Regions from separate parts of the Homo sapiens genome. Here all the other regions are linked to region 2. The links are contacts of gene promoters, found by promoter capture Hi-C in blood cells and fetal thymus (Javierre and others, 2016). All regions are on one chromosome and are shown on one strand. The core of a region is centred on a gene start or on the middle of the fragment in contact, and the rest is flanking DNA. Distances in the headings are between cores, read along the strand shown. Region 1 holds the start of P4HTM (prolyl 4-hydroxylase, transmembrane). Region 2 holds the start of DAG1 (dystroglycan 1). Region 3 holds the start of USP19 (ubiquitin specific peptidase 19). Region 4 holds the start of WDR6 (WD repeat domain 6).

Region 1 (2,754 bases), core at 77-2,576, 480 kb after region 2:
CACTTCACAGAGGGGTTGCAGGAATTAAATGAAATAATCATATGAAGGCAAGCACATAACTAGAGCTCAGAAACGATGAGCTATGTTGTGGCTCCAACTGGAGTCACCCTAGAAAGCTTTGCCCATGATGGCTGAACAAAGACTTCACCTTAAGAAGAATCTCAGAGTGCTGGCAGCAAAAGCTGAGCCTCTGACTGGTACTCCAGTGGAGGAGGCTGGGGGGGTACCAGTTTATCTACATTTGGACGGCCTGCTTCTCATCAGACCACAAGGCCCACTTCGGCAGTGGGATTTTCCCCAGAGGTCCTGAGGTCGGCAGAAAGCTGGTTATCAGTCTCCCACCTTCCTCCCAGTTCTAGAAGGTGACAGAATTAATGGTGGCACGGAAGACAGGTGCAATGAAACGTTTAGACACCAGCCTCAGGCTCACCCTGCCAGCCCTGTGATGGAAGAATGGACTGCAGGGAGTTGGGATAAGAGGGAGTGTTACCCTATTTCGAGGACGGGGAAGGTCCTTCACTTTGGTAATCCTCTGGAAGGGCTGCTCTGAAGCAGCCATTTTCAAAATAGAGGTCACGTGGTCACAACGAGCCTCAAGGTGGCCACCAAACCGCAGCCCCTGGCCCTTCCCAGGAGTATCTGGCGGACTTACCGAAGAGCAGCGGCTTGAGGCTGAGGGTTCGGATGAAGTGATCCCTGTCGGTGACCAGCTGGACCTTACGCTCGTGCCCCACCTAAGGAAAAGGCGCACAGCGGGCAGCTGGGGCGCCAGACCGCGCTGCCCAAGAAGGGCCAAGTCGCCCCGGCCCGGAGAGCGACAGCAGGCGAGTGAGTGGGAGCGCGCGGGACCGACGCAGAGCAGCGCCGGGGGCAGCGTGGGGACCCGGGCTGAGCGCCGGTCCTCTCGGGCTCAGCCGTGCAGGGCCTGGAGCGCGGCGGGGCAGGGAGGTCCTCACCTTGATGCCCTCCAGCCGGGTGAGGGGACCTAAGGTGGGCTCGGGCCCGGGGCCCTGGGCACGGTGTTGGGGCCCGGGATCGCTGCTTTCGTCGCCGTTGCTGTAGTGCACGAAGAGCAGCAGCGCCAGCACGTTACCCAGGTACAGGTGCACGAACACCATCAGCACCAGGAAGTAGGCGCGCGAGCAGATGCCGCGGGGCTTGCACAGCGGACGCACCGGTGCGTCCTCGCCGTCGCCCAGCCCGGCCGCCGCCTGAGCCTGGCAGTGGTCTGGCGGCGCCCACTGCGGCCTCGAGGCCTCCTCGGCCGCCGCGGTCTCAGGCCGCTGGCCTGTCACCGCCGCTGCCGCCATGGCACCCAGGTCGCGCGCGCGCCCAGGGGAGGGGCCGCGGGGGTGCCCGCGCTGCGCAGTCGCCCGGACAACGGCCGCCAGGCCCGCGAGCGCCGCGGTCACTAGGAGACGGTGCCTGGGGGTGCTGAGCCCGCCCGGAGCCGCCTGCGTCCGCGCCGGGCTCGGCCTTCCTGCGCCTTGAGCCCCAGCCCACGCTGGGGCTTCTCTTCCCAAGCTGGGTTGCCGTCGGGCAGAGCTGTACACTCTCCAAGTCAGAAGCCAAGGTCCCAAGCGTAGACGCGGACAAGAGCGGCACCATTAAGGCATACACTAGTGGGAGCTTCTCGGTGCCTGCGTGAAGACGCCCTCTTGCCTCCGGGAAAAGTATCGTCTGCATCTTCTTGCTCCAGGAGCGGGGGTGGGGAGCGCAGCGCGGAGGAGGCAGCGCTGAGATGACTCAACAGTGCGGCATTTGGGGGCGCCGCGGAGGCTGGGACTGCGTAAGCGGCGATAGGGTAGGACCCACAGCCTCCTCGCAGGCATTCTTGGAGCTCGGTTCCGCGGTCGGTCCGGATCTCCCGGGAAGTCTCGCCGGAGTCAGGCAGGCCTTAGGAAGAAGCTGCCTGATGTGCAAGGTTTCATAGGCCGTCAGAGGGGGCATCCTGGAGGAGCCCTGGCATCAGGAAAGTGAGCCCCCCATGGCAGCCCGCAGGAATGAACCAGTGCTCAGGTATATGGAACACTCCTTGCATCAAAGCTGGCACGTGTGAAGAGGCGGGAAGGGACTCTTCCATAACTGAGACACCATTACCTCAGAGAAAAATTAAACAGATTATCACCAAAAACGGGGGTGGGGGGAGGACATACCTACCAGTGGTCAAGTGCCAAGGCATCCCTGCTCTTCTAGAGCTGGTTATCCTCAGGAAGAGATTACTACACGCCCTCAGGGCAGAAGCTGACCCCCCTCCCCGAGGTGGACTTGCAGGCAAGAGCAACACTTTTAAGGCAGGTCACACTGGTGGTTTCTCCCTACCCTGGTTAAGACCCCCACTACCTCTACTCCCATCTCCTCTCCCTTCCCCATAGCAAAGCATAGTCTGCATTTTCTAGTCCCCTCAAGTCAAGGCAGGCCAGGGGCTCCAAGGGCAGGCCCACCTCTTTCTTCTAAGATTTTTTGTGTGTGTGTGACGGAGTCTCACTCTGTCGCCCAGGCTGGAGTGCAGTGGCGCGATCTTGGCTCACTGCAACCTCTGCCTTCCGGGTTCAAGCAATTCTCCTGCCTCAGCCTACCAAGTAGCTGGCATGCGCCACCATGGCGGGCCAATTTTTTTTTTTGTATTTTTATTTATTATTATTTAGTTTTAATTTTTTAATTATAATTTTTTTTTTTTTTTTGATACAGAGTCTCGCTCTGTCGCCAGGCTGGAGTACAGTGGTGTGATCTCAGCTCACCGAAAGCTCCGCC
Region 2 (3,151 bases), core at 5-2,504:
AGCCACCATGCCCGGCGATAAAGTTTTTAATAATCAAATGCCAGGCCTCCTTTCCTATGCATCGACGGCAGTCTAAGTGGTCCCTAAGTGGTCCCTCCAAATCCCACCATCCTCAACACTAACCAGACACAAGCAACTCTGTAGGTCACTATACCAGGTAGTCAACAAGGAATTTAAATCCTTGGTTATGCTTGGTCTTCTGGCCCATGCATTCCAGAATGTAGCTCCTCCCCCATCATGGCAGGACATCCCCTCTGTACTACCTTTTCAGTCTCTCTTTTCTGATGGCTCCTTCTCCCTCCCCACCTCTCCTCTGTTAGCTGACTTAACTGCCAGAGGTCCTGACCCCCTCCCTCTTCCTGCCACTCCACCAGCAATATCTTTCTAAACACAGGTCTGGGTCACACCACTCTACTGATTAAAAGGCTCCCCAGACTCCTGCACCCCGCATACAAAGTTGGAACTCCTGAGCACAAGGCAGGCCCAGAGCTCGCACCTGCCAAGCTGGAGGACTCCCAAGCACTATTTTAGGTGCTCATGTACATGTGGTTCCCTGTGTCCAGGCCTTGATGTCCCCCACTAATTCCTGCTGGCCCTGAAAACCACAGCTCAGGAATTCCCTCTCTCCTCAGGCTACTATGTGAGCACGCTTAGCGGGCAGACACTATTAATCATGGGTTCCCTGGTCCCCACTGCCCCCTAAACTGAATTCCTTAAGGGCAGAAGCAGACTCTTTTACATGGGTCCCTAGGATCTACCACAGAATTTGGCAGGTAGTGAATCAAAATATTTGTTCAAATGAATAAATGCATTTTGCAAAATCAATTTTTAAGAACAGTGAGGATTTGCACTGTGCCTCTTTTAACAAAAGCACATGTCAGCACAAGCTTTTATATCCCATAGGGTCTTCACATGATGGATCCAACTCCCTACTGAAATCTGATTTCTCCAAAATACAGGACACAGGCCATGAGCTCTTCTTCCTTAGTTCACAGCAAAAAAAACCCACAAAAGTTCAACTAAACTTCTCCATACTCAAACTATGGATTTTTATGCCTCCAAAATGTAGTACGGTTGAATTCTTTTTTAGAACAGGAACATTCCAAAATAATGTCTCTGAACTTAACTAAGCATAGAACCTGATAAAACTGCAATACCCCATCTACACCAGACTTTGCAAAACACCTGAAAGCACATCCAGCTCTTTATCTGGAATTATGTCCTATAAACACCACCTTCCCTTCACGGAGTCTGGCTTCTATGCCAGGAGTCACTTCTACTCGCTTATTTAGGGAAGCAGCAGGCTAGAATCTTAAGTTAGACTCTGCGCTATGAAGGTGCTGTCCCAGGCTCTTGCCTCAACCAGTCAAAACTTCATCGTCACCATTAAAACTAATTCTGAAGCAACTCGATTTACAAAAATAAGAACTTTTCAAGTTATAGAGATTAAAGGATGCATTTTAAGTTACCAGTTGAGTTTGTAGGAAACTAACTTAGAATTTATGGCAAAAAGATTCCAAGCCGAGACGACATTTTCTGTGGAGACACTATCCAAATACACTCGCAGGTGAACCAGGTCTGCCAAATACAAAGTGAAAAGGTAGTAAGTAAACAAGCTTCCAAAGGAGCTCAAGTAAGGATGACGGAACCCACCAAGGCTCTGAGCAGCTCTGACAGAGCAGTGGCGGCAGCGGTGCCCTTCCCTGCCTCTAGCGGGGCTCGACTCCCCACAGTCGGAATCCGGCCCAACTGGGCCACAACCCCTATTGGAAGCCAGGGAGGCGGCCCGCAGGCGGCTCACGACCGCGGCCAAGGCGCAGGCTCCACGTTCCCGGGAGCGCGGGCCGAGCTAAGGCCTGGCCCATCGCCGCGGCGCGCGGCCCGGGCCTTGCAGCCGAACGCTCCGAGCCTTTGCCTGCGGGACCCAGAGCAAAGGGGCGGCTCCGCCCGGGCGGCACCGCCTCCTCACCCACAAGGACGTCCGCGGCCGTGTCCCCGCCCCGGGCCGAACAGCGAGCAGCAGCAGGTGTTCCGCGGAAGGCTCAGCCGGCAGCAGGGATGGGGGCCCAAGCAGCCAGGCACAGCGGATAGGGCGGGCGGTGCACTCACCCAGCGCCGGCGGGAGGACCGCGGCAGGTGTTCGCTCCTCCTGGCCCCAGGACGCCGCCACCGCCGCTCCCCGGGGATTCGGCGCGAAGCTGCCGCCGCCGCCACCGCCAAGCCTAAGAGGCGCGAGCGCCGCGCCGCAGCCTTCGCGCGAGCACGTACCGGGCGGTGAGAGGGCGCTGAGCGCAAGGGCGGGGCGCGCGGCCGGAGCCTAGCAACCGCCTGACACGCGAGTGTTGCAGCCAATCCAGCGGCCAGCTCCGCGCGGCGCCGACTGGCTGTCCGCGCGCCGCCGGCTTCTGCCTGCGTCGGCCGCTCCGCAGCGCGCCGCACCCGCGCGCAAGCCCCGCCCCGGCCAGCACCTCTCTGCTCATTGGCTAGCCACTCCCCCGCCCTAAAAGTCACGCCCCATTATGGAAGCCTCGCCCCCACGGCCAGGGAAGTCCGTCCCGGGACACACCCCGGCGGTCGGTCCCGGTCACTCGGAGCCTTCAGAACCAGTAGTGTGGGGGAGGGGCTCCCCGCCCAACTTCAGGCCTTTGGGCCTCTAAGACTAATCAAGGGACAGTCAGGACTGCGAACTGGCCCAGCAACTGGCCACCCGTCGACTGCGTTCAGCCCTCCTTATTTCCTTCGAATGCAAATCAAGGGGTATTTCTAAGCCATGAGAACAATCAGGAAGCGTTCTCTCAATTGCAAAGGATGAAAGCCTTGCTGCCCGGCCCTTACACGGATGGGAGACTGAGGCCAGGGACAGGAGGAGCGGGAAGCTAGCTCATCTCCTAGAGCCTCGCCCACAGCAGGCTGGGGAGTCGGAAAGCGCCTCAGGCCTAACCCTCGTCCCCTCCCCCTGCCTGGAACACTGGAATCCGACGCCTGCTCTCCTGCCCAAAATAGCTCTAACTCGCAGGCGCTGGTCACTCACTCCTAGTGGCCTGCATTCTTTTGGTGGGGGAAGAAATAAGAGAGGGGGGTTGCTGCCTGGAACATTCAAGGGGAGGGTCCTAAGGTAGCTCTAGCTCTCCCCAGGACTTAACCTGCAGCC
Region 3 (3,095 bases), core at 191-2,690, 350 kb after region 2:
AGCGAGTCCGGAGCCTGGCAGATGTGGATGCGATCCTGGCACGTACTGTAGGAGATGTGCGTCGTGCCGAGCAGCTACTGCAGGATGCACGGCGGGCAAGGTCTGACCCCATCCCTGGCCCCTATCCCTGACACCTGGTTTTGATACCTCCAGGTTCTGATTCCCCCTTCTCCCCAGGAGCTGGGCTGAGGATGAGAAACAGAAGGCAGAGACAGTACAGGCAGCACTGGAGGAGGCCCAGCGGGCACAGGGTATTGCCCAGGGTGCCATCCGGGGGGCAGTGGCTGACACACGGGACACAGAGCAGACCCTGTACCAGGTGAGGTCTTCCTAGGACATCAGTGGGACAAGGTTATGGGCATGAACCGTAGATCTGTGTAACCTTTGGCTCACCCATGGCAGGTACAGGAGAGGATGGCAGGTGCAGAGCGGGCACTGAGCTCTGCAGGTGAAAGGGCTCGGCAGTTGGATGCTCTCCTGGAGGCTCTGAAATTGAAACGGGCAGGAAATAGTCTGGCAGCCTCTACAGCAGAAGAAACGGCAGGCAGTGCCCAGGGTCGTGCCCAGGAGGCTGAGCAGGTGGGTTGAGGCAGAGCCAGCTGGAGAAGGTAGGGGTGGAAGATGGGCCTCCACTGAGCTACCACGCTAACCTAACCCTCTACATCTGCAGCTGCTACGCGGTCCTCTGGGTGATCAGTACCAGACGGTGAAGGCCCTAGCTGAGCGCAAGGCCCAAGGTGTGCTGGCTGCACAGGCAAGGGCAGAACAACTGCGGGATGAGGCTCGGGACCTGTTGCAAGCCGCTCAGGACAAGCTGCAGCGGCTACAGGGTAAGAAATGGGGCACCAGAGACACAAGACTGCGGGAAACCCCCCCTAAACTGACACCTGCCCTTCCTAGAATTGGAAGGCACCTATGAGGAAAATGAGCGGGCACTGGAGAGTAAGGCAGCCCAGTTGGACGGGTTGGAGGCCAGGATGCGCAGCGTGCTTCAAGCCATCAACTTGCAGGTGCAGATCTACAACACCTGCCAGTGACCCCTGCCCAAGGCCTACCCCAGTTCCTAGCACTGCCCCACATGCATGTCTGCCTATGCACTGAAGAGCTCTTGGCCCGGCAGGGCCCCCAATAAACCAGTGTGAACCCCCACTGTGTTGTCTGGACTCTGATTTGGGGCGGGCGGGGGAGTCTCCAGGGGAACCTCGAGGTTGCCCCCAGCAGAACCCATGCACCGCTAAGCCACCCGAGCACCGCCTCCTTCCGCTCGGGCCCGCCCCGGAGCTGCGGGTCGCTCCGAGCCCATTCCCGCCGGAAGTGCGTCACCAGCTTGGCGCTCCGCCTCCCTCGGCCTTAGCTAGAAGTCGAAACAAAACAAGCCGCTAAGGCGGTGGCGGCGGCGCCGGGACGGGGGAGGGGCGCGCCGGAACCGGAACCGACCTGCGCCGGAACCGGAACGGAGAGCGGGTTGCCAGGGCCCGAAGAGGGCTGGCTGCGGCGGTCTCGCTCGGTGAGTGGAGCAGGCTGCAACTCGCTGGCTTGGCCGCAGCGGGGAGGCCGCAACGCGCGGCCGCGGCGGCCTGTTCAAGGTCACGGGCCGTGCCAGTCCCTACCCCTAGTGCCCCGCAGCGTGCCAGCCCACTGATGCCGGCAGGGCCGTTACGCTATGCCTGTGGCCAGCCTCCCACCTGGGAGAGGACTGGCGGCCAGCGAGGGCAACTTCGTGGGAGAGGTGGTGGCGGGCTCGGGGTTCAGAGGCTGAAGCTGGGTCGCAGCTCGACCGGGGCGCTGATCTGTGGTCAGTAACCCCGCGCTGCCATTTCAGGCCGGCTCGGGTCTCTAAACAGCCCCTTACCCGCCTCGACGTCCCTGGGGCATGGGGGAGGGACGCGACCTTCGGCTGGGGCCTGGGTGCAAGAAGGAGGCGCCGGTGGCAGGTGTCATTAAAGATCCAGCCCACCAGTACCACATCTGACCTGTAGAAGGGTATCCTGCCATCCCTCCTTCCTCCTTTACACACTTAGGGGAACACAGACTAGTCATTATCTGTCCTGCTACTGGTTCAGGCCAGGCTTGAGGCTGCCAGGAGTCCTGGATCTGTGGTCCTCCCCAGCCTCATCTCAGTATCTAGTTTCAAGACCTTCATTTTGGAGGAGGAAACAGTCCAGAATCCACTGGTGGGTCTGTGGGAAACTGTAGTGGTCCTTGTGGCTCAGAGCTCATGAGTGAAGGCATCTGGGAAGGAAGGTGATAATTTCTGTTCCAGTCTCAAACTGGATGCCCATCCTGCCTTAGTACTGGAGCAGGGTTGCTGCTGAAGAGGTAGCGTGACATCTAGATACACTTTTCAGTCCCTTTCTGCTTGGGACAGCAGCTGGGGAGAGGACTTTCTCTTGAAATGAAGAAGGACCAAGCAGTACATAGGAGCAGGTTCTTGCCAAGGGTGGGAGCTGGCAGGAGGCAGGTGGAGTGCCTTAGCCCCAGGACTTTTTCTGGGCAATGGTAGAACCTGGGTTGAGCCTGTTTACAGCCACAGAGCCTGGTTCTCCTGCGGCTTGTCTCCTGTCCTGCCTTCCTCCTCCACCTTCTATTTCTCCAGTGGTGACTAAGCAGCCAGTGAGAGTGAAGGAAAAGTGAGCACCCTGCTCGGAGTGCCAGCCCTGTGGGCTGGAGCCGTGGCTCCTCTCCAGATTGGTGGAGTAGCCTGGTCCCAGGCCATGACTTCCTTGACCTGGTGCCCCCTCAGTGAGGCTTTCACCTGTGTGGGACTGTTATGGTGGGTATCTATGAGGCTTGGCCAGAAGTGGTTGCTGCTACTTGCATTATTTATTACCTCTTCAGAATATCCTGAGAGTGTCCAGGGGTACTTAAGAGATGAGAAGATACAGCTCTGTAGCATTAGTGTCCTGTGTTGCTGAGCCCTGGGTGTAGCTAAAGAGCAAGTTGTTGGGTCTTGGCAGTGATCACTGGCTTCTTTCCATTAGGCTGTCCGTTCCTTGCTGGAGAATTTGGCCACAAAGAGTTGCCAAGATAGCTGGGCCAGGAAGAAAGCGCCGCAGCCCTGACCCAGACGCTGTTGCCGACCCCGGGGCACTCTG
Region 4 (2,704 bases), core at 37-2,536, 460 kb after region 2:
AGCTTCCTTTCCTCCCAGACTCCATTCCTGCTCTAACTTCACAAGAATTCCCTCCTTCCCCCAAAATGACAGATTCTTCCAGCCTCAAGGCCTTTGGCATGCTTACCCTCTTGCCAGGAACTCACCCCTTTTCCTAGTTCACTCTTGTGGTTCTTTGAGTTTCTGCTTCGTTGTTCCCCCTCAAGGAGCCTTAGGAGTTTAGCTCGCGGTAGGAACTCCGCGCTCCAAGAACCCCCACACCAGATCAAAACTGGATCATCCCCACCCCATACACACACCCTCTTAGGACTGGTGGCAACTCACTCAAGGCCTGACCGCCAAGGCCCTGCCTCAGGACCCTTATACAACTCAGCAGCACCAACATGGGTCATTAGTGGCTTCATGTAATGACTGTTCGAGACCAGCCTGGACTCTGACACCTCAGGTCCCAGGCCTCGCCTGTCCTTTGCGACCCGGTTCTCCTTGGAGGGACCTCCACACCTGATTTCCTGGACCTCAACCATCTCAGGAGGGGGTCTCAGCCCCTGCTTCCCCGGGCACCGCCCCCTACTCGGAAAGGTCTTATCCGCCGTTTTCCGCGACGCCACCCTCCTCAGAGGATCTTCACCCCCACCTTAGGGGGAAGAGACTCATCCCGCCCTCGAGAGGCCACACCCTTGCCCTCTCCCGGCCCCGCCTTCCCCAAGAGGCCACACCCCCTGAGGGGCCGGGGCCGCCTCCGCCTCCTCCTCCTCCTCCTCCCTCCGCCCCCCCCAGCTCGGCCCCGTCTCCTTCGGAGAGGCCAAGCCCCCGCCCATCTCCTAGAAGGGAGCACACCCCCTCAACCCTCAGCTCCCGGGCCTCCGCCTCCGCCTCCGCGCGGCCGCGTTCCCCTGCACCCTCCCGCGGTTCCACCCGCCCTTTCCACGCGGGCTGAAGTTTATGAAGCGCCGCGGCGGCCACATCAGCTTTGTCTCTCGGGCCCCGCCCTCTTCAGGTTGGCCCTCGTCCCCGCCATCTCCGGGGCTCCCTTCCCACCTCCGATCGGCCTCAACCTGCTGCCCGTCCTTCTCCTCAGGGCACCCCTTTTGTCCCTGTGGCACCGCCCCTGGGAGGCGCTGTTTCTTTCCCCCTTTCCACCAGGCGTGCCTCAAGCCAAGCCTCACCCGCCAACAGCCGGTCCCCCACGCACTCCAGACCCGTCACTGGGAGGAGTATAAGCTCCGAGGTTGCCCGCGGCCAAACGTAGTCCTCGAGAGCGTCCATGTCGATCCTCGAGGTGCTGAGGCAGCCACGGCTAAGAAGGGAGCTGAACTCTCGCGAGAACGAGCCTTCCCAGCGCGCCGCGCTGCCCATCAACAGCGCCCTCAGCTACAGGTAGCAGAGACCAGGGCGCCCGCGGCGGTTGTCCAATGACGACCCTTCGTCCCACGCAATCCAGCTCATCATTGGCGGGGCCCGCGGAGGGGCATCCCGCCCCTCGCCCCCTCACGTGACGCTTGCGGGGCGCTCCCAGCTGCCAGCCCGCTGCACCTATCGCGGACTCTGTTTCGCCGACCCGGAGTTTGTCGGGCCCGGCGGCTCGAACCTTGTGGTTTTTTATTTGACGGGGCAGATGGAGTCAGTACACAATAAATAACATGAATATAGGAACTGCGCCGTATCGCGGCTGGCGGGGTGGGGCAAGACATTGGCCAGACCTTTAGTCTGCAGCAGGACAGAAGGACAGCCGGACCCCTGATCTTGGGCAACTGGCGACCCGCGGCTGGGAACCGGGGCTAACTCTTCCCTCAGAGTTCCACGCGCGCATCGCGGTAGGCCCGGTCCAGAGCCCACTCGGGCTGTGAGTCGGTGCCCCCTTCTCGGGCAAGGCGGGCCATCTCCTGTTGGAACAGCGCTTGCCGCGCTCGGCTGGGGTCCACATTAATCCAGTTGTTGGCAATCCACTTGGTGCCGCGCGTGACCAGGCAGCCCCCGTGCAGCGAGTAGTCGTCTACGTCACCCACCCAACCTAGAAGAGGAGGGTGACGTGAGATCCTAGGCTGGGCTGGCCAGAGCTTGGCCTCATAGGCACCAAGAGCATGACCAAGGTGGGTCCAGCTATGCATTCCTTGTGTAGCAAACACCCAGACCTAAAGCTTCCTTGGAGGCTCCTCATCTCAGCCCACTAATGTATAGTCAACACTACTGGCCCTCTGAAACCAGCTTTCTTGCTGTTGGGCCTGTCCATATCCCTTCCCATCCTGGGTTAGCAAGGGACATGTGTCCCAAGCCCCAGGGAGTAGGAAGGCTGGGGCATCAGGGAATGATAGGGATGGATATAACCCAATAAGCAGTACAGGTCCTGGGGCAGTCTGCTAAAGTCACTAAGGATGGCCTTTGGGAGGCACCAGGAGCAGAAAACTATTTGGAAAGCAGCCAGAAACAGCCCTCCATTGTGGCAGACGGGGGCTGGGTAAAGGGAAGCTGTACTCAGGGCACCCCCCCCAGGCCTGGCCATAGGCCCTCACCTTGCCCATCAGGCAGGTAGTTGTACCAGAAGACTGCTGTGCCCTGTTGGGGCTTGACACGCAGGTTTCCCTTGTCACAGTGCCTCCGTGTGTCACGGAGGTCCACGTCATCCTGAATCAGACTCTGTGGGCAGCAGGGTGGTGGGGTGTTCAACCTGTCCCCACTCTATGGCCAGGCCAGCCAAGGGTGACCAAAGGGAAACCAACCAGATATG

Evidence for each region. The method cuts DNA at HindIII sites, captures the fragments that hold promoters and counts their contacts. A CHiCAGO score of 5 or more calls a contact.
Region 1: a contact is called between the fragment with the promoter of P4HTM here and a fragment that was not itself captured in region 2, in 1 of 17 cell types (fetal thymus). The highest score is 5.8, in fetal thymus.
Region 3: the fragment with the promoter of USP19 here is called in contact with a fragment that was not itself captured in region 2 in 2 of 17 cell types (endothelial precursors and fetal thymus); the score reaches 5.1 in endothelial precursors.
Region 4: the fragment with the promoter of WDR6 here is called in contact with a fragment that was not itself captured in region 2 in 4 of 17 cell types (fetal thymus, naive CD8 T cells, neutrophils and 1 more); the score reaches 6.3 in fetal thymus.

The regions. Positions count from the first base shown.
Region 1 is chr3:48,988,813-48,991,566 of GRCh38, reverse strand. P4HTM (prolyl 4-hydroxylase, transmembrane) reads right to left here and starts at 1,326. Exons shown (of 9, transcript NM_177939.3): 1 at 957-1,326; 2 at 653-734. The coding sequence starts at 1,310. It overlaps LOC124909376 (a long non-coding RNA gene), which reads left to right and starts at 1,695. Exons shown (of 2, transcript XR_007095903.1): 1 at 1,695-2,019. RefSeq lists enhancers at 354-915, 1,573-1,732, 1,480-2,042, 2,043-2,606 and a silencer at 1,083-1,462. The HindIII fragment of the contact is 11,078 bases long and covers 119-2,754 here.
Region 2 is chr3:49,469,392-49,472,542 of GRCh38, reverse strand. It overlaps DAG1 (dystroglycan 1), which reads right to left and starts at 2,276. Exons shown (of 3, transcript NM_004393.6): 1 at 2,110-2,276. RefSeq lists a silencer at 1,858-2,597. The HindIII fragment of the contact is 729 bases long and covers 890-1,618 here.
Region 3 is chr3:49,119,168-49,122,262 of GRCh38, reverse strand. USP19 (ubiquitin specific peptidase 19) reads left to right here and starts at 1,440. Exons shown (of 27, transcript NM_001199161.2): 1 at 1,440-1,507; 2 at 2,982-3,095. It overlaps LAMB2 (laminin subunit beta 2), which reads left to right. Exons shown (of 32, transcript NM_002292.4): 28 at 1-100; 29 at 178-319; 30 at 403-579; 31 at 671-830; 32 at 901-1,149. The coding sequence ends at 1,037. RefSeq lists enhancers at 163-1,151, 1,152-2,141 and a silencer at 1,260-1,579. The HindIII fragment of the contact is 7,172 bases long and covers 1-3,095 here.
Region 4 is chr3:49,005,973-49,008,676 of GRCh38, reverse strand. WDR6 (WD repeat domain 6) reads right to left here and starts at 1,286. Exons shown (of 6, transcript NM_018031.6): 1 at 1,146-1,286. The coding sequence starts at 1,245. It overlaps P4HTM (prolyl 4-hydroxylase, transmembrane), which reads right to left. Exons shown (of 9, transcript NM_177939.3): 8 at 2,490-2,613; 9 at 1,524-1,990. The coding sequence ends at 1,770. RefSeq lists silencers at 612-791, 1,332-1,381 and an enhancer at 1,520-2,508. The HindIII fragment of the contact is 5,770 bases long and covers 1-2,119 here.